Linked DNA regions of Homo sapiens: region 1 is linked to region 2. Evidence: promoter capture Hi-C in human tissues and cell types (Jung and others, 2019). All regions are on one chromosome and are shown on one strand. Each heading gives the region's core, a stretch centred on a gene start or on the middle of the fragment in contact. The rest is flanking DNA. Distances are from core to core; before and after follow the strand shown. Region 1 overlaps VAT1L (vesicle amine transport 1 like). Region 2 holds the start of VAT1L (vesicle amine transport 1 like).

The links. The method cuts DNA at HindIII sites, captures the fragments that hold promoters and counts their contacts. A contact is called where the count stands out against the background at its distance.
Region 1: a fragment that was not itself captured here is called in contact with the fragment with the promoter of VAT1L in region 2 in 5 of the 25 tissues and cell types used here (liver, mesenchymal stem cells, mesendoderm cells and 2 more).

What each region holds. Positions count from the first base shown.
Region 1 is chr16:77,850,903-77,855,518 of GRCh38, reverse strand. The region is part of intron 3 of VAT1L (vesicle amine transport 1 like); the gene reads right to left. Among named protein-coding and RNA genes, the nearest start is that of VAT1L, 65 kb to the right of the region's middle. RefSeq lists an enhancer at 3,196-3,697. The HindIII fragment of the contact is 9,020 bases long and covers 1-4,616 here.
Region 2 is chr16:77,786,690-77,791,355 of GRCh38, reverse strand. It overlaps VAT1L (vesicle amine transport 1 like), which reads right to left and starts at 2,792. Exons shown (of 9, transcript NM_020927.3): 1 at 2,441-2,792. The coding sequence starts at 2,673. The region is part of intron 1 of LOC107984878 (a long non-coding RNA gene); the gene reads left to right. The HindIII fragment of the contact is 13,812 bases long and covers 1-4,666 here.

The sequences.
Region 1 (4,616 bases), core at 210-2,709, 65 kb before region 2:
TTTGGACATATGCAGACAATGAAGGGCATGCATTAAAGTGGAGTGTGTGGGCATGTCGGGGGAGATAGATAAGGAGAAGGAAAGGACTCACCTGTGGTCAAGTTTCTCAAATGGGTTGTGTGACTAGGGGTAAGCTCATGTCTCTGTGCCTTGATTTCACTTTTTTTTTTTTTTTTTCTGAGATGGAGTCTCGCTTTGTTGCCCAGGCTGGAGTGCAGTGGCACGATCTCGGCTCACCGTAACCTCTGCTTCCCGGGTTCGAGCGATTCTCCTGCCTCAGCCTCCTGAGTAGCTGGGACTGCAGGCACGTGGCACCATGCCCAGCTAATTTTTGTATTTTTAGTAGAGACGGAGTTTCACCATATTGGCCAGGCTGATCTCAAACTCCTGACCTCGTGATCTGCCTGCTTCAGCCTCCCAAAGTGCTGGGATTACAGGCGTGAAACAGCACGCCCAGCGGTTTCACATTTTTAAAATGGGAACTTGGACTTAATGATCTCTGTGGTCTCTTCAGTTCTAAGATTTCTTGATCACATTGACTAGTTATTTAGCTGGGCCAAAAACAGTGTATTTGGAGAAATCTCCCAAAAAGTATGAAGGTTGAGTCCCTGTACCAAGTTTGATGAAAATGGAACTTTCTGTTACTAACTTGACCATTTTCAAGATCATCTTACAAAAAGAATTTTGTATATCTCTTCTAAAAGTTGTTTTCACTGTTAAACAGCTCATGAAAACCACAGATCATTAATGTAGTCAAAGAATGGAAATGAATTAGCAGAATGAGCTTGTGAATGTTCGGAGAAGAGACTTGGAGGAGATGGTGAGGTAAGATTTTCTTCTTCCAAAGATTGTCAGTTTATTTTTTCATCTTCATCGACGCATAGAGGTACTTAGATGAGCAAAAATAACTGAAAATTATCACAAAATCAAGTACATTGGATGCATGAGCCATACTTACGTTTTTCTTACAACAATACAAGCTCCCACATTGAGGTTTAGACACAGAGTCAGAAACATTTTTTTCAGATCACGCTGTCATTTGTCTGCTCAACAATTCAGTGACTCAATTGTTGTAAGAAGAGGAAATTCAAACTCCACTGTGTGGGCTGATCCATGTGACCTGCCACCAAAGGCAGCAAAGACTATTCTGTGTTCTCACCTACAATGCTTCAAGCATCAGTCAGTTTTTCTTTTTCTTTGTTTGTCACTGCAAAGCTGTTGACCTACACGTGATATGCGCTGTGACACACAGGTGCCGAGAATTTCAATGGCAGGAGGTTACAGGGGTGCATGGCTGAGATAGGAGAGAGGGAAGAAAAATGGAAAAGAGTGGGACAGGCATTTTTCAATTGCTCAAAATATAAGTATGGGCAATTTTTTTTTTTTCGTTTGAGACAGAGTCTCACTCTGTTGCCCAGGCTGGAGTGCAGTGGTGCGATCTTGGCTCACTGCAACCTCCACCTCCCGGGTTCAAGAGCTTTTCTTGCCTCAGCTGCTCAAGTAGCTGGGACTACAGGCACGTGCCACCATGCCTGGCTAATTTTTGTATTTTTAGTAAAGGTGGGGTTTCACCATGCTGGCCAGGCTGGTCTCGAAATCCTGAACTCTCCTTGGCCTCCCAAAGTGCTAGGATTACAGGTATGAGTCACGGCGCCCGGCCTCATTTTTTTTTAATCCCCAAAAGAAGTAGGCATATTCTTTGAGAAGACTTGGTGGACAGTGTCTTATTTTTTTCTCTTTTATTCATTGTATGGATCCGTGCTTCTCAGTGTGTGGTGCCAGAGCCAGCAGCCTCAACATCACCTGGGGACTTGCTGTAATGCAGATTCCCAGGCTCCAACCCAGACTTATGGAATCAGAAACTTCCAGGATGGGGCCCTGCAGCCTGAGTTTGAACAGGCCCTCTAGGGGATTCTGATGCAGCTCAAGCTGAGAATCACTGACATAAATCATCATGGTAAATCACTGGCACATTCCCTGTGATTTAGAGGAGAAAGGCCCCATGATGCTCACAGTATCTGATAATCAGGTATTTTATTTAAAACCTGGATGTGGCCTGACTATTCGTATATAATTATACATTCCCTGGAGAATTCTAATGTGCTGACGGCGCTGAGATCCACTGCTCTATAAAGGCATCCTTCTAATTTGCTCAATTATGGCATTGTAGCAATCCACTTCCTCTTTTCCTAGTTGAGGCTGACATCAGAGTCCATGGGTTTAGTGTGTGGGATCCTGTAGATCAGGGCATGACCAACACAGTCTTCTGTGATCAGAGAAGTAGGAAGAGAAAATAAGCCCCCATCCCCATTAGCAGGCTCTGAGGCTCTTGATGCTTGGCCACGGTGCACCGGGTTTTCCTAGCCTGTCACAGCTCTGCTCCAGCAAGTGACTGGGAAGATGACAATTTAAACCTTTTCTTCTACTTAGACTGCTCTGAGCTCATTGCAAAGGTCCTGGATTAAGAAGCAAGTGAGGCAAAGTGGTGAAGCATATAGGTTGATTCATTCAACTCCAGCTCCACAGAGTTTACTGTGTACCTGGCAGGGCTCAACATACCCTGTAAATAATAGCTCATTCGATCCTCATCACAACCTTTATGAGGTAGGTACTAGTTCATCCTCATTTCCCAGATGGAAGAACCGAAGCACAGAGAAGTTAGGTAACAGCCTACAGTCACACAGTAATACCAGGGAGAAGATCTGAATCCAAGTAGTATGACTCCAGCTTCCACAATTTAACCACTGCCTTATGCTGTAGGACAGTTGTGGATCTGTAGGCCAAAAGGAGAGAAGGAAGGGGAACCACCTCTTCCTGGTAAGTTACGCTTTGTCAAGCACTATGCTGGGTACTTTACACACATCTCATTCTATCCACCCAACATCATATTGCCATCTGGAAGAAAGGCTCGGAAAGAGCAAGGGAACTTAGAGTAATCTTGCCAGGATCATTGGAAACTGAGGCTCAGAAAGTCTAAGTACTAGCAACTGGAAGTGGTGAGGTTTAAATGCAAGGGGCCTTATTGCTAAGCCTGTGGGGACAGGACATGTTCGTGAAGTGATCTGGCAACAATGACTCCCACTCCCCACATAAACTCAGCTGCCAGCCAGTGCCCGAGACGCCTGATCAGATCCCCCTCAGCTGGGTTTCCTGACACCCCGTCCTCACGGAGCACAGCAGGCAGCTTCAGGATCAAGGGTGGGAGGGAGGTGACTTTTGCTTTCCCAAAGCTTCTCCTAGGAGGTGGCTCCATGAGCCCGGGCCTACGGGATGACACACCAGTGACAGCCCCTCCTCTGCTCTAGCTGAGAGAGAGAGGTCAGTCCACTTTCACCTCATGGTATGTTTGAGGGTCAAGCCAGCACAGTTTTGTTGTTTGAGCAATAAGGACGGGCAGCCCCGAGATTGGGAGGGGGAGAGGAGCACTAGTATGGCCCTGGAGGAAGAGACTGTGGGAGATCCCCGCTTTCAGAACAAGACCCAAAGCAAGCTAGCTCTGAAGGGAGCCTTGAACACGCAGGAACAGAAAACCTGAGTTCTGATCCTGCTCTTGCCATTTCAGGGCTCTGTAGCTTACGCCCCTCAAATGTACAAGAAGGACAGGAGCAGAATCTCCGAGGGTCCTGTGTGATGGCGCTCAGCACTGGGGAAACACGACAATATGGACTTTGGAGTCAGGCAAACCGGAGTTTGCAGCCTAGCTATGGCACTGACAGGCTGTGTGACTCTGGAAAGCTACTTCATCTCTCTGAGCCTCAGCGAACTCACATGCAAACAGGTTAGCATACTTAGTACAGTGCCAAGCATAGTGGATGCTCGGTAGATTATAGGGCCCTGCTCTCTCTCTCTCTTATTATTATTTTTTTAATACAGGTTTTCAATCTGTTGCCCAGGCTGAGGTACAGTGGCATGATCATAGCTTGCAGTAAACTCAAACTCTTGGTCTCAAGCGATCCTCCCACCTCAGCCTCTCATATAGCTGGAACTACAGGCACTTGCCACCATGTCTGGGTAATTTAAAACAATTTTTTTTGTAGAGACAGGGTCTCACTATGTTGCCCAGGCTGGTCTCGAGCTCCTGGCCTCAAGCAATCCTTTCACCTCGGCTTTCCAAAGCACTGGGATTACAGGCATAAGCCACCGTGCCTGGCCAGCTCTGCTCTTCTTACTCTAAAGACTGTATCATTCCATGTTATGGTCTTCGGTTTACTAATTCCAGGTTAAATAGCTTTTTTCACACCCTCTGGGATTTCTGATTGTCAGTGGCAGGGCAGGGTTGGAAAGGTTCAATCTGTAACCATAGCTGCCCCTGCTCTACCCTACCACAGTTTTGTGTGAATTAGAAAGACGGGCTAGTATCTGTTGCCGGGCAGAGCTGTGAGCCCTAGCAACTAGAGTGTGGCCATCTCTTGCTTGCCCCACAGTTTGGTGTTTCTGTGCAGTGTGCAGCCTGTCCAACCGCACATGGCAACTCTGCTAATCAACCCTTGTAGAGACCATAGCAAGGCTTGTGTCTGTCATCAGCAATACTCTCCAAATGAGGGGCACCATGCATGGCCACAGGACAACCCATAGCCCACAGACTGACACACTGTTTGAGAGTTGGACTCCAGCAA
Region 2 (4,666 bases), core at 1,543-4,042:
TACTGGTTCAAATGGACTATGCTTTATTCCAAGCAAAAAGCATATCCTATTATGACAAAAAGGTTTCTATTAAAAATAGAGAGCAGATAAAAGGGAGACCATCATCCAGGAAGCCATCGGCTGATTCATAAAAATACAGAATGAGTCATCCTGTATCCCAAGGCTAAAACTTATAATCAATGATCATGTCTGGCCAGCCAATCCCAGCCCAGAGGAGAAGGAGCTGCCCAGTGGGCCATTTACAAGCCTATTACAATCCTTCCTTGTAAAACCATTAACTCTGCTTCCAGCTTGGTGAAAGGAAAATCAATCTGGGCTGTTTGCAACACTGTATTCCAAATGTACCTGCAGCCTGGTTGGCTTTCTGAACAACTAGGGTCGGGGAAGTGCAGTGATTTCTGTGTGTGTGTGTGTAGCGCCACTGAAGAACAGGCTTTCACATCTGGCTTTGAAAATCAATCTCTTGGCCTTCATCTTGACATTTATTATTTCAAAATGCTTCAGTTCCTATCAGCAATTATGCAGTTAACATAAGACTGGAAAACACAGAACTATGTGTACTGCAGATGATGCTCTTTCCTTTAAAAAGTAGTTTTATCATTTTCCCTCTCTGAATATGTACTCTAGAATCCTAGAATCCCATCCTCAATTTGGATGAAGGGTCATAAATTACATACGCATACATATGCAACTGTATATATAATTGTATATATGTATATGCACATATATGCATAGGTGTGTGTATACAGGTAATTTTTTTTGATGAAGTGGTTAAGGAAGGAGAGTTCTAAATGCATGGTTTTAATTGTACTAAGCAAAAGCTCTTCCACCAGCAAGTAAAGAAAAATAATGACCCAACAATCCTCCTCCGAGCTCTTTCCTCAATCCATTCATTCAGCGATAACTTATTTAGGATGTGCAGTGGGCCAAACAGTGTGGGGTGGGGGAGTGGGCTGGTCTTTGGGGATTTAGCTGCGAAAGGGCAGATATAAGCTCTCCTTCTGGGATCAAACAACTTGGTTCAATAAGAGTTTATTGTACAGGATCCCCCGGTTTGCAAAAGCCTCTTCCCTTACCCGGAATTCCCCACAGAGACTCACGAGTCGTGTTCAGAGTCAAACCTGACCAGCTGCATATATGAGCAGCAAGGCAGGGATCAGCGGCTGCTTCTCCCACTAGCTGCTTTCTAATCTGGCCGATGAAACCTGCGTCTGTTCTCAAGGTGGTGAACGGGAGGGGACCCTCGTTTGTATTTCTCGTGCCTCTAGAGAGGTCCAGATATTGGGTTTCTGATCTAACCTAGAAGCTCGTGAGCTGGCTGCTGCTTTGGAGAGCAGTATGTACTGGGGGGCTCTAGAAAACAGATGGGAAGGAATAGGCTCGTCTCACCGTGATTAATAGCAAGTTCCCCTTACAAGTTTAACATGCAAACCTAGTGTTGGGTCCAGTCCGCCTCTGCTGGGTAAGCTCTTCCCAGAACTTCAGGGAAATTACAGTGCCCGCACACAGAGAGGCTTAAACTCTCCCCGGGAATTTCAGCTGAGCGTGAGGGCCTGGAGAAGTTCCCCCAGGGGGAATGGGGAATAGAGGGCAGCTTAGAGAGCTGAGCTCCTTCTGAGATGGGACCAGGAATTCCGGGGAGACTGATCAGGGTTTTTTCCCCTCTCGGAGAAACAGAGGATGGAGAGGGGCATGGAGGGGGTTGCGCTGCAGCCCTGGTCTCCACCCTCACCAAGCCTGGGTGCAAGGTACCGACCCTCTTCCTTCCTAGTTCCTTTCCCCGTCAGGCTACGGGGAAGGAAGTGGGCAGGAGGCGGGATCCAGCCCTGCACCCTGTCCCAGGCCCTTCAGGACAACAGCATAGAGGTGAAAAAAGATCATGTATCAAATTCCCGGCCAAGCCACTTAGTGGCAGCTGACTGATCTTGGGCAAATCACTCATTCTCGCTGAGCGGCGGCTTTCTTACCTGTAAACGGATCATGATGGCACCTGACTCATTAGGTCCCAGGAAGTATTAAATAAGATCGCACGTGTAAAACTACCAACGGCGGCTGGCACACAGTGGGCTTGCGGTTCTTAATACATATATTTTTAATTCTGTTAAGCATCAACCCTCCCGTGCGAAAGCTGAGTTGTCCTCTCAGACGGAGAACTCCCGTAGCGCAATCTTCCAGACCCGGGGTGCCTGGGCGCCAGCATTCTCCCCGCGCCCAGGAGCTCACATTCTCCTCCCGTCACCCCTAGATCTGGCTTGGGGAGGCCGCCCCTCTGCATCCTCCCCAGCTTTGGCCCGGGGAGGCTCTGAGACCCGGGTGAGGGCGCGGAGGGGGTGCGCGCGGCGGTTCTACCCGGGCAGCATCCCAGCCGCAGCTTTCCCACCCCCTCCCCAGCGCCCAGCGCGCAAAAAGAGAGAAAGCGAGAAAGGCGCGGATACTGGACCAGGCTTTGACGCGGATCTTGAGCTCGCCGTCCTGAGGCTCGGGCATGGCCTTCCTGAAGAGCCGCAGCTTGTTGAGCCCCCCGAAGCCAGCCAGCACCACCGCGCGCATCTCCTGGGCGTCCCCGAGGCGGTGCGAGCCGTCGCCGCCGCCGCCCTCCGCCGGCTCCTTGCCTGCCTCCTTCTCGATCATTTGCTCCGTCTCCTCCGCCTTCTCCACGCCTTCCTTGGCCATGGCGCTCGAGGGCGCGGGGCGCACGGGCTGCGGTGGCTGCGGTGGCTGCGGCGCTGGGGGAGTGGGGCTCCTCTCCCGCGGGTTCCTCCTGTTGAATGTGGGATGCTCGGCTGTGCAATGGCTGCAGCCTCTGCGAGCGCCGCCGCGGTCCACAGCCTCCGCCGTAATCCTCACAAGAGCCGTGCCCTAAGCGCTTCACCCCCGCCCCACCCTTCTTTCCTGTCCCAACGAAGCCTCAACTCCAGTTCCTGAAATAGTCCCAAGTTAGGGTCGGGATCGCGGCCCTAAACCCAAATTTGCCGAAGATCTGTGACTAAAACGAGCCTAGAGAGACCACCCTGTCATCCCCCTTCCTGTGGGCCCAGTACTTGGTTATATACGGCACAGGCTCGGGTGCCTTGAAATGGACCGAGACTAATGTCTGGGCCTGGAGGATGCCTTACCGCGACAAGGTTGCCCTCTCTCCCTCCCATCTTCGAGGCTGGGCGGGATAGTCGGGAAATTGGGTCGTTTCTCAAACAGCCAGTTTTGGGTGGAAGGGCGGAGAGGTTTGGGAAGCAGGGAACTAGAGATCCCGCTCACTGCCCTGAAGAGTCCAGTGCAGGGTCTTTTCACTCCAGACCTGCAGGGTCAGCCGGGATGCTCTTTGCTGGGTATCACCAGGGGCTTCCTTACGACGGCGAATTCTCACCACCCACACCATTTCGGGCTATTAAAGAGGCTTCAGACAAGAATCCTGTACCAGAAAGGATCCTGTTCGTGTTCTGATCCCCGGAAGACCAGTGTGTACCCGCTCCCCAACATGCATGCACATACACAGAGTAGTAACTGGCGTTTTGTTTTGTTATCAGGCTCTTTGAGAAAAACAGCTCATAGAAAAACTTGGAATTTCTGAAATAAAATAATGGGGAAGGACGTGGTTTTCCTAGGGGCAGTTTAAGGAAAGAGATGCAGGTGAGGAAGTAGGTCTATATTCTATTATAGTTGCTATGCCATTGCCAGCCTTGAGATCTTGGGCAACTCATTCAACCTTCCTGAGCCTCAACACACTCATCTATAAATTGGGTACATTGATTTTTTTTTCTATATTGTGTGAAGTGCTGGGGTGGACATGATTTCAGTGAGACATGGTCCTTATATTGGAAAAGGTCAATTTCAGAGCATGAGGCATGAAGGACACAGTCAACAAATGTGGTACAATGAATGATGTAAGTGCTGCCTCTTCTCTCCCCTCATTCTTCCTGTGCCTCACTGCTTTAAATGCCCTTGTCTTCTATTCCTTAAAAAAAAAAAAAAAAAAAAAAAAGACGATTGCCATTTTCCCTCCTTCCACAGGGTTCTGCACCTGCTGTCCCCTTGGCCTGGGGTATGTGTTCCATCTCCTTTATCTGGTGTTAACTCCTACTTCGTTCTCACCTCAAGGGTCCATTCCTGTTGGGAGGCACTCCAACCTCCAGATTGGTGTCCTCCCTGACTATAGACACTTATGTCCCTTTGTAGCCAACTTTTATATGTTTACCTGATAATATCTGTTTCCTTTATCCAACTGTGAACTTCATGTGAGCAGGAGCTATTTCTACTTTTATCCAGCGTGGTTTTCCCAGGGCTTAATACATGATTGGTACATAGTAGAATATGCACAGAGGCAGCCTGTTGAAAAACTGGTCCAGAGAGTTGGAGAAGTTCTCATGGAGGAGGGAACATTTGGGCTAGACCTTGAAGGATAAGGCAGGTTCTTCTGGCAGAAAAGGTCGCAAGCTCATTCAAATAACACAGAAAGGTAACAGGTAAAAGGGCTTTTGAGATTCTGGTTTGTTCTATGTAGGCAGAACATTGGCTGTATTTAGCAATCATTGGAGATGAGGCTGAAAGGTTTATTGGGACCAGCTTTTGAAAGTTCTCACATACCAGGTTATAAAATTTAAGACATAATCACAGAGGCAATTGGTGCCATAAAGGCTTAAAAAACAAAAACATGGGGAGAGCATTACCA